2 separate regions of the Homo sapiens genome follow, and region 1 is linked to region 2. Evidence: promoter capture Hi-C in human tissues and cell types (Jung and others, 2019). All regions are on one chromosome and are shown on one strand. The core of a region is centred on a gene start or on the middle of the fragment in contact, and the rest is flanking DNA. Distances in the headings are between cores, read along the strand shown. Region 1 overlaps ATP12A (ATPase H+/K+ transporting non-gastric alpha2 subunit). Region 2 holds the start of RNF17 (ring finger protein 17).

Region 1 (7,151 bases), core at 83-2,582, 76 kb before region 2:
AAACCCTGTCTCTACTAAAAATATTTTAAAAATTAGCCAAGTGTGGTGGCCGCTGCCTGTAATCCCAGCTATTTGGGAGGCTGAGGCAGGAGAATCGCTTGAACCCAGGAGGAGGAGGTTGCAGTGAGACGAGATCGCACCAGTGCACTCCAGCTTGGGCAACAGAGCGAGACTCTGTCTCAAAAAAAAAAGACCAAGACAGAGTCCTGCCCTTTAAGTAGCTTACAACATAATTAGGGAGAAGAGGTATCTACAGACTTGTCCACCAAAGATCGTCTGTGGGGGAAATTCCTGTGAACATGTAGGGTTTCAAAGGTGAGGGTGCCTCACGGATGGCAGGCCCCCCAGGGCAGGGGCTGCTCACATGGGCTCAGGGCTTGGGTAGGATTTATGCCTGTCAAGATGAATGAGAACTTAGGCTGGATGTGTAGAAAGGTGGAAAAGGAGCAGGCGTAAGGATGGAAACTAAAGCCACATGCTCTCTGTGCAGGATTCCAGAAGCTTCCCTATTTCCTGGGGAGTTACTGCATTGCCCTTAGCCCTGGTGAGCAGCTTCTTCATTCCAAGTCCTCCTTCATCAAATTAGTCCTCTCACCGGATAAACCTCTAAGAAACTAAAACCCCTTAGCAGAGCAGAGTGCAGTGGCTCTGGACCCAGTCACCACGTTGAACCTGGTCGCTACCATTGACAGGCCAGGTCCCTTCGACAGGTTACGTAATTTCTCTGTGCCTCAAATTCCACCTCTGCGAATGACGAGAGGGAGGAATAATGGCCCCTGCCTCAAGGGTTATTTTAAAGACTAAATGAGTGAATATACAGAGCACAGTGCCTGGCTGGTATTAAGCATTACATAGTCTTTCAAAAAAGCTGGGCAGCTGGAGAAGTGAGGCACGGTCTGCTTTTCTCGGGACCTTCTTTGGCCACGTTAATGCCTCACCCCAAGCTGCAAAAATATGCAGCCCAACCCCTGAGGGAGGAGGAATGTCTAATTCGTATTTGTTTTGGTTGTGCATGTGCTTTGTTTGGCTTTCCCAGGGTCTCTCCAGCACCAGAGCTGCCGAGCTCCTGGCCCGGGATGGGCCCAACTCCCTCACCCCTCCCAAGCAGACGCCTGAGATCGTCAAGTTCCTCAAGCAGATGGTGGGGGGGTTCTCTATCCTCCTGTGGGTGGGCGCCTTTCTCTGTTGGATTGCATATGGGATTCAGTACTCCAGCGACAAGTCTGCATCCCTGAACAACGTAAGGCTCTGGGGTGTCCCCTCCTGGTTTTGCTGGCAGAGCCATCCAGTGAGGCCTTGGGGGCACAGCTGGGGGCTGAATGCCACTGCCTAGGTGTGGGAAAGTCAGGCATTTTCCCAGCTGTAAAACAGAAATTCTATCTGGCTTTCTGATCTTCTAGAGGCAGTGTGGGCATGAAGAGGGATACACAAAACACCTTGAATTTTTAAGGGGGAGAAAATCTGCATCCATGTGAAGTAGTTTGGGGTTCTGTCTCCCCCAAGCTAACCTCTTCCTTTAACACGGAGAGCAGCTGTGCCTGCCGAGACATGAGTACCAAATCCACAAAACTGAATTGGCCAACGTGATGCCAAGAGACAGAAGCCAGAGGCAACAAGCTACATGTCATAGGATTGGATTGACATGAAATGTGCAGAACAGGCACATCCTTGGAAGCAGGAACCAGATCGGTGATGCCAGGGCATGGGACAGGAGCAGGGAGTGACGGCAGAGGGGCCGGAGGGATCTCCAGGCAGGATGGAGATGCTCTGAGGCTGCGGTGGAGGGTGGTGTCATGGCTCTGTAAACTTAAAAAAAAAAATCAATAAGTTGCGCACTTAACATGGGCGAATTCCATGGCCTGTAAATTATACCAGGGCGTAACTGCCAGCATTGCATCCTCCCGTGGAGAGCTCTAGCCCCAGGGCCCGGCTGCTTCCCACTGCTGGTTTCTCTGACTGACGCCCTCCTTCTCACCCAGGTGTACTTGGGCTGTGTGCTTGGTCTGGTGGTCATTTTAACGGGGATCTTTGCTTATTACCAAGAGGCAAAAAGCACCAACATCATGTCCAGCTTCAATAAGATGATCCCTCAGGTGAGTGGCAGCCACCTATCCTCTGGCCTCTGGTGACTCCCAGGTGAGGAAGCCTCAGCTGGGAGGGGCACAGGGCCCTGAGGGCTACGGGTTTCCACTTCCTTCCCTGTCGGAGCAATCGTGGGCGAATTAACCCATCTGTCAGAACCCCAGTTCCTCACAGGATTTTGATGGTCAAATGAGGCACCACCCAGGGCAGTGCTGGTTAGCCCAAGGCATCTTCTGTTCCTGCTCCTCAGTGTTTGTGGATAGTCCTTCTGGGTTCTGGAAGGGACCTGTGGAAGGTCAGGGAGTGTTCTTTCACTGGCAGCCAAGGAGACCAGCCTGCAATTGTTTATCTGTGACCATTTTTGCTCCTGAGCCCCAGAATGCATTTGGTGGGGAAGCCCAGTGCTCCCTTCTTCCCCAAAAACCCCTGTCAGGTGTCCACACTGTCTCTGGCCCAGAGAACTGTGGGCTGGAGAGATTCTGGGTGGAAAAGACGCCTCCTGCCAAGCTTGAAGCAGGAGATCACCTCGTTAAAATTTCCCTGACACTCGCAAGATTATCAGCCTCCCCAGCCCCACCTTCAGTGTTCTGCCCAGACGCCCAGCCAGGATTGCTCACCCTTAGTGGTCTCCTTTTCTAGGAGGCCCAGGGCTCTGGCTTGGCCAGATCTGGCCAACAGCGACTCTTCTGTTCCAAGAACTCTCCATAAGCTCAAGAAAAAGTAGTTCTTAGAGTCTTCAGGCCTCGGGTGAAGCAGTCTTCTGTTTCATTCTTGCTGTTCTGACAGCCTCATGCTCCAGCAGCAATGCTGTGTCCACAGGGCCAGGTGCAGGCTGCATAACAGCATGGACTCAACAGTGAGAGTGATCAGGAAGTTCCAAGGCCTCTGTCCTGGGGTTCGGTGCGGCACAGACTTGGGGGAGGGCCGGTGTCCTTCCAGGGTCTGAGGCATCTGTCATGGTTTTTTTCTGCAGCAAGCTCTCGTCATCCGAGATTCCGAGAAGAAGACCATCCCTTCAGAGCAGCTGGTGGTGGGGGACATTGTGGAGGTCAAAGGAGGAGACCAGATCCCTGCAGACATCAGGGTGCTGTCTTCTCAGGGGTGTCGGGTAAGCGGCAAGGGGTATCCACCCCAAGGACCATGTTCCAAACCTGCTGGCTCTGGGGTCTTTCCCAGCATCAGTATAAGAGGCAGGGAATGAGGTACCCAGCTGTGAACCACCTTCAACATTTCTTCTAGGTGGATAACTCATCTCTCACGGGGGAGTCTGAGCCCCAGCCCCGCTCCTCTGAGTTTACCCATGAAAACCCCCTGGAAACAAAGAACATCTGCTTCTATTCCACAACGTGTCTGGAAGGTAAAAGGCCTCTGGCTCTCAGCCCACATGTCCACCTGTGTCCTTTCTCCCTCCTGGGCTCTCAGGTCTGTCCTTTGCCACACCCCGTTACAAAGCTCATCCCAGAGGAAGCATGGAACTGAAGGGCCTAGAGGACGATGCTTGGCCTTGGGAATGTGGTGTGCCTATCGATTGTGCCAGCCCCCAGAGAGGGCTGCAAGCTGGCTGCACACCCCTCCTGGCTGAGGACCCCTGGAATAAAGCATCTACTTCCCCTGTAGGCACTGTCACCGGCATGGTTATCAACACGGGTGACCGCACCATCATTGGCCATATTGCCTCATTGGCCTCAGGAGTTGGAAATGAGAAGACGCCCATTGCCATTGAGATCGAGCACTTTGTTCACATTGTGGCAGGAGTGGCTGTCTCCATCGGCATCCTTTTCTTCATCATCGCTGTGTCCCTGAAGTATCAAGTCCTGGACTCCATCATCTTCCTCATTGGCATCATTGTGGCCAATGTGCCCGAGGGCCTCCTGGCCACTGTCACTGTGAGTCCATGCTGTTAGACAGCCTGCACCTGGCCCTGTGGACACAGCACTGGTGCTGGGGAGGCGCCCACACAAACTGCAATCTCCCCCAAGTCCAGAGCACCACGCCCTCCCCGCCAGCGACAACCCTGGAACATTCTGCATAGACTGTTCCTTACAGAGACAAAAAATTTGTCATATTTTCAATATTTGACTGCGTTTTCCTTGAAAACGTTATGCTTTCAATCTGCAATTCACACAGCTTACTCTGCCCCATAAGATCTAGATAAGACAGACTCCACCATTCACAGGTTTTCTAGAAGCTTGATGCCTTCCGCACATTTCTTTGGCAGTTTCTACAACTTAGGCATTTAGGCACATTGCCACACTCCACTTACCTCTCTTACGAAAAAAAAAAATTCCTCCCATTTTTCCTGCCGAGGACTCCAGCCCTTTCCTGGCCAACCCCAGACCCAGCTGTTTGTATGGGCCCATGTCATTCAGTCCCTAGAGAAGAGCCCCCTCCTCCTCAGTCTCTCCTGTGGGGGTCTCAAGGGGTAGGAGAGGAGGGGGTTTATGTTTCCAGTTTTGTGACTACATGATCATTGGCCTGCTATTGTCCTGACCAAAGAAAAGAGAAGAAGTTTTTGAAGTCCAGGTCTCCTCTGACTCCAGGAGATAGTAATTTGGGGAAATTGGAGCCAAAAGAACCCTTTGAGATCTAGGGGTTTAAAAGAATCTTTAAAATATGGAGCTTTTAAAATGAAACAACATAAAGGCTGCTGAATTCCCCAAAGCAACAAGTGTGTCCTTTGGGACAACTCTTTGGCATGCACTGGTCAGTCTCTCTTACACACTCCTGCTTAGGGATCACAGGAGGCGTCGTGATTGTACGTGAACACGAGCCACAGCAGCGTGTCCGTGTTTGCTGCCCGTGGGTCCCTTGTTTTCTTCAAGTCATGAAGGAACAAGAAAAGCATCTCATATTTAATCTTTAAAAAAGGATTGTGGCATAGAGGGCTCTTGGCGGCGTATAAGCCACCAGGTCAGCTTAGCTGCGCTGACAACCACACCTCTCCCCTAAAACTAGTCCAGCTCTCTCCTAAAATTCAATCACAGCTCACATTGGCTATTTCTGTATTATTGGACCTGAGTTCAAATGAGGATTTTTCCCAAAGCGTCCTTCCCTCTCCTGCTAGGTGACCCTGTCGCTGACAGCAAAACGGATGGCCAAGAAGAACTGCCTGGTGAAGAACCTGGAGGCTGTGGAGACCCTCGGCTCCACCTCCATCATCTGCTCGGACAAGACTGGGACACTGACCCAGAACAGGATGACAGTGGCCCATCTGTGGTTCGACAATCAGATCTTTGTGGCTGACACCAGTGAGGACCATTCAAGTAAGTCTTATGGAGAGCTCGGTCTGGCCAAAGCTGTGGACTCCATCCTGGGGCTGAGCTGAGCACACAGCAGGGTCTGCAGCCAGAGGATTGCTGGACAGTGACTCATGGACGGCCAGCCCAACCCACAGCAGCCACTGTTCTTTCTCTGTCTTCCAGACCAAGTCTTTGACCAAAGCTCTAGGACTTGGGCCTCCTTATCCAAGATAATAACATTGTGTAACCGAGCAGAGTTCAAGCCAGGACAGGAAAATGTCCCCATCATGAAGGTAATGCTTCTGCAGCACTTGGTCTTAAATCACAGCCAGTTTGTAGTCACTTGCTGAGGTCTGATTGGGTGCTTGATTTCATCTCTCCAGTTGCTTAAAGTTTGTTCAGTGCTTGCAAGAGCAAGTCAGACTCACAAGACATCCAGAAATTTTTCTTTATGCACACTAGCTTTGAGAATACAAAGATGCTTAAAAGGTTTCAGAATATTGCTTTAGCGTCTTCAGAAAATTCTGGAAATGAATGCACTTCTAAGTTACTTTCCTGACTTTTCTGCCAGCTAAGTGGATATAATCAAAGTTCCTTTTAATATACACACCATTCATGGAAATTTAAAGTGTGATTGAATAAAAATAAAAGGACTCCTGTTAACTAGAATATGGCTGCAGACAAAGCTCTAAGGGGTCCTGGAATATCGGAACATACAATAAACTCTCCCCCTCCCTCCCTCTCCTCCTTCCCTTCCTCCCTTTTCCTCTCCATCTCAATGAGTCACTGAATCCCTGTTCTCCTGGCTTTTCTATTTGCCATCTGTTTCCTTCCCTGACTCTTTTTCTTTCTTATTTTTTTGTTTGTTTGTTTGCTTTTCTCTCCGTCAGACAGCTCATGAATGCTCTTTTTGGCCAATTGCTTCTTTGTCGATATCTTCCAAATCTTTATGTCCAGCTCTAATTTCTTACCTCAACTCCAACCCGAATCTCTGGCTGGCTGTGTGCTTCCGCTAGGAAGTTGCACAAATCATGCTTGTTAACTTCCACCCGTACCCAGCCTGGCTGCACATCAGTGCCTTGCCGCAATTTTCTAATTGTCTATGATATAACCATTCTATTTGTCATTGGAACAGAATATTTGGAAGTCATCTTTGACTTTATCCTTTCCTTATATCCAGTAAGCCACCAAGTTCTATCATTCTTGCTTCAAAATATACATAACTTTAGTATTTGTCAGCAGTACCTTGCATCTAAATAGCCGATTACCGGCTGATTGGAATTAAACCTCTTTGATTCCGGTTTATCCCTCCTGGGGTCTTTCTCGAATGCCACTAATTTCCCTTAATGGTGCTTTTATAGTCACTTAACTTTGCTCAAAATCTCTCCGTACTTCCCTGTTTTCTGCTTCTCAAGTCTAGACCTCAGGCTACCTTTCAGGGCCCTCCAGGTCTTGCCACACCCTCCACATCCGCTTGTACCTTGAACACTCACGGACGAGCCTGCCCCTCATGCCCCTGCACCCGCATCCTGGTTTCTGGAAGGCTTTCTTCTCTGTGTATCGGTAACCCACCTATCTATCAAGATCTAGTTCGTAGCTGCTTTTTTCCACGAAATCTTCAGTCCTCGCAGAGGTCCAGCTTCTCCAAACATCCCTAATGCCAGTAGGTGGCACTGTTGTTTACACGCTTACCACGGTCTTGCGGCCCTCCCTGATCACGTGATAATGTCTCTCCAGCTAGGTGGTAATGGGATCAGGAGGGTGTGTTTTGGGTCCTATGCTGAGGGCATGTTGGTTCATTAAATATGTGCTGCAAATATTTTTCTTCTT
Region 2 (7,259 bases), core at 1,774-4,273:
ATTTGGTTTTAGAATATTAAAATTCTGGCTTGGTGTTATTCTATTAATCCCACTCTTATGGTGGGAATAAATATGTTATATGTTTCTATTCAATAATTTGGTTTTAGAATATTAATATTTTGGCTTGGTGTTATTCTATTAATCCCACTCTTATGTTGGGAATAAATATGTTATATGCTTAACAACAACAAAGAAACCTAACTTTGACCATGGATTTGATTTCAGGTGCACAGGGCTAAGGGCAGCCTGCAGGTTAGCTCTGTGACTGCATAGTTCTACATTCTTTCTCTGATCTGCTGCTGCTATTTGATCTCTGAATTTCTCTTTAGTTTTGGTGAAACTTTCTAAAAGACATTCACTGTGGGTCAGATGCAATTTATAAAAATTGTGTATTCAAGAAGGGAGCCCTGTTTATCTCATTTCTCAGCTGTTTAGGAGATGATTTTAGAGCACTAGAAAGGCACTGGTAGAGAGGCAGGCAGAGGGCAAACCTCCAAGGCCATTAAGGTTTTGTTGTAATTCATAGGAAGCCATTAAAGGGTTCCAAACAAAGGATTTAAACAACCTAAATTGAATGTTAAGAAGACATTTCTGGCTGCTCTATTTGAGGGTTCTTGGTAAGTGCTAAGAAATGAACAAATGTGGTATAATCATCTATCAGTGTATTTCTCACTGGCCCTGATTTATCCAAGATTAATTCAATTTCTGGGATTACCAAAGGCATCTCTGATGAAACTCAAGACCCACATTAAATATCCACATTATGGCCCACGATGAACACCTATGCAATGAGATTGTCATTATTCAAATTACAGTACAGCTATCCTAGAGGAAAAAGAGGCTTGCTACATGCTAGAATAGCATTAAGTGTGGAGAGAAATGTGAAGGTTTAAAGGAGAAAGTGCTTCTAAAGCTGATCCAGGAAGGATAAGGAGAATATGGGCCGGACGCGGTGGCTCACGCCTGTAATCCTAGCACTTTGGGAGGCCTAAGGCGGGCAGACTGCCTGAGCTCAGGAGTTTGAGAGCAGCCTGTGCAACACAGTGAAACCCAGTCAATACTAAAATACAAAAAATCAGCTGGGCGTGGTGGCATGCGCCTGTAGTCCCAGTTACTGGGGAGGCTGAGACAGGAGAATTGCTTGAACCCGGAGACCAAGGTTGCAGTGAGCTGAGATCTCGCCATTGCACTCCAGCCTGGGCGACAGAGCAAGACTCCATTTCTAAAAAAAAAAAAAAAAAAAAAAAAGAGAATATGAATTGATGAAGAGTGAACAGTAGGTATTCCAGATGAGGGGAATAGGGAATAATACTCACAAAACTGTAGAAGAGTCAACATGTTACATGAGAATATTGGCTTGATTAGTACTCAGTTCCATCATGGATTAGTAGTGGAAACTATTGGATGAGTAGTAGAATGAGGGTAATTTAGGGAAGCAGTACTTTTCTCTCGAAGACAACAAATTACAAAGATTTTTGAGCCGAAGTGAGCCTTTCAAGAGAATACTTACTTCACAGTTTCTAGTTACCCACACACAGTGTAGAGAGAAAAGAAAATGAGGAATATGGGCAGGCTTTATTCTTAGCAGCAAAAGGCAACCGTGCCACCTCCAGGTGTTTTGTTTGAAATACACCTGCCACCTTTCTACTAGATTACTTCATTCCTTGCTCACAAAACGTCTCATGCACTCTACTGCTTAAAGAGTAAAGTCCAAACTCCTCAGCCTTACACTCGAGATTCTCCGAAATTCTTCCCTGACACACCTCTCCAAAGAAGCTTACTTTAAGGAAACTCATACTCTGGCTAAATGGTCTTTAAATTCTCAAGAAGTCACTGTGTCTTCCATCTACCTTCCCTCACATCTACCTTCCCTCGCTGATGTGTTCTTTATTCTTGGAATCCCTTAGTTCTTGTTTACTCCTGTAAGTACTACCTAGGTTGTAAGGTCTAGTGCAAACCCTATATCCTCTACGAAGAGTTTTCATACCACCGTAGACCATATTGACTTCATTTCTTCATTGCTTTTTGTGAACTATGCTTGGACAAGTTGCTTCAACTCTTTTTTTTTTTTTTTTGAGACGCAGTCTCGCTCTGTCGCCCAGACTGGAGTGCAGTGGTATGATCTCGGCTCACTGCAAGCTCCGCCTCCCAGGTTCACGCCATTCTCCTGCCTCAGCCTCCCAAGTAGCTGGAACTACAGGCGCCCACCGCCACGTCCGGCTAATTTTTTTTTTTTTTTTTTTTTGTATTTTTAGTAGAGACAGGGTTTCACCATGTTAGCCAGGATGGTCTCGATCTCCTGACCTCGTGATCTGCCCGCCCTGGCCTCCCAAAGTGCTGGCATTACAGGCGTGAGCCACCGCGCCGGGCCCAGAAGGCTAATTCTTACTGTCTCTAACACAGGTCCGGTACATAACACTTATTTTGGCGGAAGTTACTGGGTTTTTTTAAGGAGTTATGTATCTCTCAAGCAGAAACCTGCTAGTTCATAAATTCTTAGCATCCCCAACCACTCTTGGCACGCTGCCTTGTATATTATTAGGCTCAACAGCAGTTAGTAATGATGAACACTCCTTAATTCGAAAGCGTTCACTGAATCTACCCCAACGATAGCTTCTCATTAGCTTCTCCACTCCAGCTGCTATTGGCCAAGCCCTGGATGCCCGAAGCACACAGGTTTAGGGCTTCTGGCCCTGACACGTAATAGGGAAAGGGGATTGTTTCAATCCAAATGATTATCTATAAAGTCACTCACAATGTAAGTAATAATATGCGAAATTTTAATTTGTGATGACTAAAAGCACTAAAGTGGTGACTCTTTGGGTAGAACGTAAAAACGAACGGTCCTCAACGGCCACAAGGCGCCCCTTCTAGGAGTGGTACCTCCCAGGATAACGGAAAACAGCCCCAGCCCCATCAGGAGCGAGCTTGGGGGCGGGCTTTAATCTCCCGGCCCACTGTTTGGCTATCTGCAGGGGCTGGCCTCCAATGATTGGTCGCTGCCGCGAGGGCCGCCGGGACTCGCACTCGGCGGTTGTTCCAGAAGAAAGAGACAGCGATGGCGGCAGAGGCTTCGAAGACTGGGCCTTCTAGGTCTTCCTACCAGCGAATGGGGAGGAAGAGTCAGCCCTGGGGTGCCGCTGAAATCCAGTGCACCAGGTGTGGAAGGAGGGTATCCAGATCATCCGGTGAGGAGCCCAAGGGCCCACCTAGCGGGGAGGCAGCCTGGAGGGAGCGCTGGGGGCCAGGTGAGCTGGTGGGCGCGTGAGGCTTGGTCAGCTGCATCCAATCCTGGTGTCACCAGAAACTGCGTCACAGGCCTCCCGCGAGCTGCACCCGACCTCTAAGAGGGCAGTGCTTGGGTTGGTTAAGGGCAGCACCTGCGCCTGTCACGGCTTTCTCCAATTACCCATCCAGGCCTCACCGACCCTCCAGCCGGGAGGATGGGGGCCCGGGTGGCTTTAATCTACTCCTCACAAGGCAGGTTAGCGGGTGCATGCAAAAGTAGACATAAAATGTAGCCCATTGTTTTGTCATCAAGAAGGAACGAAACTTGATTTTCTCCTGTAGTTTTTGTTGTAGGAGTAACAAGTAGACCATTGTGAAATGGTTTTGGATTTTGTTGTTGTTGTTAGCATTTTGTTGTTTCTGTGGGGGTTTTTTTGTTTGTTTTTTACATTATGGCTCACACTGGCCTAAAACACTGTTTGGAAAATGATAGTTTCTTTTGTGCACCTTGTGGGGTGTGTGTGTGTGTGTGTGTGTGTGTGTGTGTGTGTTGGTCTTTATACGTGAGGGGAAAAATACACTGCACTATTATTGGTCTGTTCACCTACAATCTACTCAAGTGATCACAGGTTCAAGTTATTTATTATTATTTTTTTCTTTGAGTTGGAGTCTCGCTCTGTAGCCCAGGCTGGAGTGCAGTGGCGCGATCTCGGCTCACTGCAAGCTCCGCCTCCCAGGTTCACGCCATTCTCCTGTCTCAGCCTCTGGAGTAGCTGGGACTACAGGCGCCCGCCACCACGCCCGGCTAATTTTTTGTATATTTAGTAGAGACAGGGTTTCACCGTGTTAGCCAGGATGGTCTCGATCTCCTGACCTCGTGATCCGCCCGTCTTGGCCTCCCAAAGTGCTGGGATTACAGGCGTGAGCCACCGCGCCCGGCCGGTTCAAGTTATTTTAATGTAACTTAAAATACCTTAGTGTGCTCTTAATACAGCTGAGTTGTTGAATCTCAATTCCTGGAGCTACTGAAAATTCGTATTACCTGGCGTAACTGTTTAATGTTTATACTTTCAAAGTTAAGGTCATTCGATCAGTTTTCTCAGTCTTGGCAAGATGGACTCTGTGAGATGTGAGCCTCTGCAGAAAAAGTTGTGATTTCAGTGGAGAACCAAGTTTCTCCTACTTGGGGTTTAGATCACTGCTACCGTTACGTAGAAAATTTCCATTTTTGAATGAAATTAAAATTACGGAATAAAGTTCTAGAACACAACCTTTTAAAATGAGTACTTCTTCCATACATTAGTATTATAATGCTTAGAAAAACTAAACTGGAGAAGTAGTGGTTATGTATATAGAATCCTGAAAGTGCTTTTTAAGCTGTAATTCACCACAAGTTATTTTGAGTTATTCAGTATCAGAAATTTTATAATAGTTAAGTGTTTTTATTTCTTTGGCAATATTATCCCTGGAAGTTAAATAGGGTTTTAAAATTTAGCATGGTTGTAAGCAAGTTTCAGGTATTTCAGTTGGATAGGAAACTTGTAAAGTTTTTAAAAAATACAATTAATGCAAGGCCGGGCACAGTGGCTCACGCCTATAGTCCCAGCACTTTGGGAGGCCGAGGTGGGCGGATCACTTGAGGTCGGGAGATCAAGACCAGCCTAGGCAACATGGTGAAATCCCATCTCTACTAAAAATACAAAAAAATTAGCTAGGCGTGCTGACGCACACCTGTAATCTCAGCTACTCCGGAGGCCGAGGCAGGAGAATAGCATGAACTCAGGAGGCAGAGTTGGCAGTGAACCGAGATCGTGGTCCGTCTCAGAATGAGTGAATGAATGGATGAATAAATAAATAAATAAAATTAATGCGATTATAATTCAGCAAGAACTCTATAATTATTTTGCTAGTAAAAGATGACTGATTTTTATCTAGTTTTTTTCCCTTTTCAGTTTTCTTGCAAAACTTTAAAAATGACAACCTTTTGAAATTATATAGCTAAAACAAATGTTATTTATTATAAACTTCAAATTCTTAGAGCATTTAATCATGATGTTAGGTTTTCAATCAAGTTACGATATTTCCTTTCATAAATGCTAAGTTTGTGAAAATGTGAGTTGTAGATATGTGATAATAGTAGCATCTGGCTTCTGGCCTTGCCAGTGTCTTAAATAATTCTAACAGCACGGTCTTGCCAGTGTCTCATTTTGGCCCTTCCTGACCTCTTCACAGGATGGGAAATATAAAGTAGTAGAGGGCAGTATGATCAATCAGAAAGAATGTTAGACTTGGAAACAGAGCTAGATAGGAGTCTGGATTATACCATTTAGTTAACCAAATCTCCAAAATGCTATTTCATCTCCAGCCCACTTAACTGTGATATTTACAAATAACAAATAAAATGTGTCAGAGCACTTTGTGTAAGATATGGCAGATTCAAAGTATTCTAGGTACAAAATAGCCATCTGAATTAATGCAAATGCTATTACATAGCTCTTCTTGGTTTTTCTTCTTGATTTTTCTCCCTCCTGACCTGAATAGTTGGTTACTCCTGATTTATATTCAATAAGTCAACCATTTCAAACTGTAGTAGGTATCTTTTCCTGTACAGTAGGATCCTCTTTGAATTTCCCTTGTATCAGTATTGCCCATTCAACATTAACACACTGTGGGCAGTTTAATCACAATAGAATTTCTTCAGTAAAATTAGCCGGGTGTGTTGGGACACACCTATAGTCCCAGCTACTTGGGAGGCTGAGGTAGGAGGATCACTTGAGCCCAAGAGGTGGAGGCTGCAGTGAGCTGGTGCCACTACACTCCAGCTTGGGCAACAGAGCAAGACCCTGTCTCAATAATCATCATCATCATCAAAATAATAATTAAGAATTTCATCAATAGGTCACCATTGTGAACTTCAATGTGGACATGCTTTTTGTGAACTATGCTTGTTAATGACTGAAGAATGCACCACAATTATATGCCCTGATTGTGAGGTAAGTGTTATAATTTTTCAGATGAAACATATCACAACCTAATGTTAATGGTAAAAATACTACAGTAGTAAAACGTACTTCTAGTTAGAAACTAAAAAGTTGGCCGGGCGTGGTGGCTGACGCCTGTAATCCCAGCACTTTTGGAGGCTGAGGCGGGCAGATCACGAGATCAAGAGATCAAGACCACCTTGGCCAACATGGGGAAACCCCGTCTCTACTAAAAATACAAAAATTTGCTGGACCTAGTGGTGCACACCTGTAGTCCCAGCTGCTCGGTAGCCTGAAGCAGGAGAATCGCTTGAACCTGGGAGGTGGAGGCTGCAGTGAGCCAAGATTGCACCACTGCACTCCAGTCTGGCGACAGAGCAAGACTCCATCTCAAAAAAAAAAAAAAAACCCTAAAATCTTGCATTTTTGCTGCTGAATCTTTAAGCAAAGAAACCTAACAAAAGATAAAACTTTTTCTATCCATTTTATAATTGTGTAAAGTGATCAGGAAAAATAAAAGGCGCTAAAGTCATACACTTATCGGCCTACATATTTTGATTCTTTGGTGACTTCTGTGGAAAATTATGTCTTTTGTTTATTTTAATGGTGTATATTCCTTTAAAAACCCTAGCCCCTGTTTTACCCACCAATCCATGCAACCACATTTTGAACTCCCCCCCTGCCCCTCAACCTTTGTGTGTCATCAAATGTACATTTGGGAGATGCCATTCTACAACAAGGTAGAGAAGCAAAACTACTGCCTAAAATTTTTACTTCAGAAGCCATTAAGACTGAAATCTTTCCATAAGAATGAGAACAAATTAAGGATGTAAAATAAAATTTACTTGATATCCTATTCATTTAATACAAATATAAGTGTAGTTCAGCTTATATAATATTGTTCCTGGAAAGTTGACTCAAGCTGTAAATTCCTTTTTTTTTTTTTTTGAGACGGAGTCTCACTGTGTCCCCCAGGCTGGAGTGCAGTGACTCAATCTCAGCTCACTGCAACCTCCGCCTCCCAGGTCCAAGTGATTTTCCTGCCTCAGC

What was found. Contacts are between HindIII fragments. The study calls those that stand out against the background at their distance.
Region 1: a contact is called between a fragment that was not itself captured here and the fragment with the promoter of RNF17 in region 2, in 3 of the 25 tissues and cell types used here (H1 embryonic stem cells, IMR-90 fibroblasts and aorta).

What each region holds. Positions count from the first base shown.
Region 1 is chr13:24,687,283-24,694,433 of GRCh38, forward strand. ATP12A (ATPase H+/K+ transporting non-gastric alpha2 subunit) reads left to right here. Exons shown (of 23, transcript NM_001676.7): 4 at 1,037-1,240; 5 at 1,980-2,093; 6 at 3,056-3,190; 7 at 3,322-3,439; 8 at 3,700-3,968; 9 at 5,147-5,345; 10 at 5,505-5,614. Among named protein-coding and RNA genes, the nearest start is that of ATP12A, 10 kb to the left of the region's middle. RefSeq lists an enhancer at 6,511-7,151. The HindIII fragment of the contact is 4,194 bases long and covers 1-3,429 here.
Region 2 is chr13:24,761,146-24,768,404 of GRCh38, forward strand. It overlaps RNF17 (ring finger protein 17), which reads left to right and starts at 3,024. Exons shown (of 36, transcript NM_031277.3): 1 at 3,024-3,188; 2 at 6,127-6,221. The coding sequence starts at 3,059. The HindIII fragment of the contact is 17,753 bases long and covers 1-7,259 here.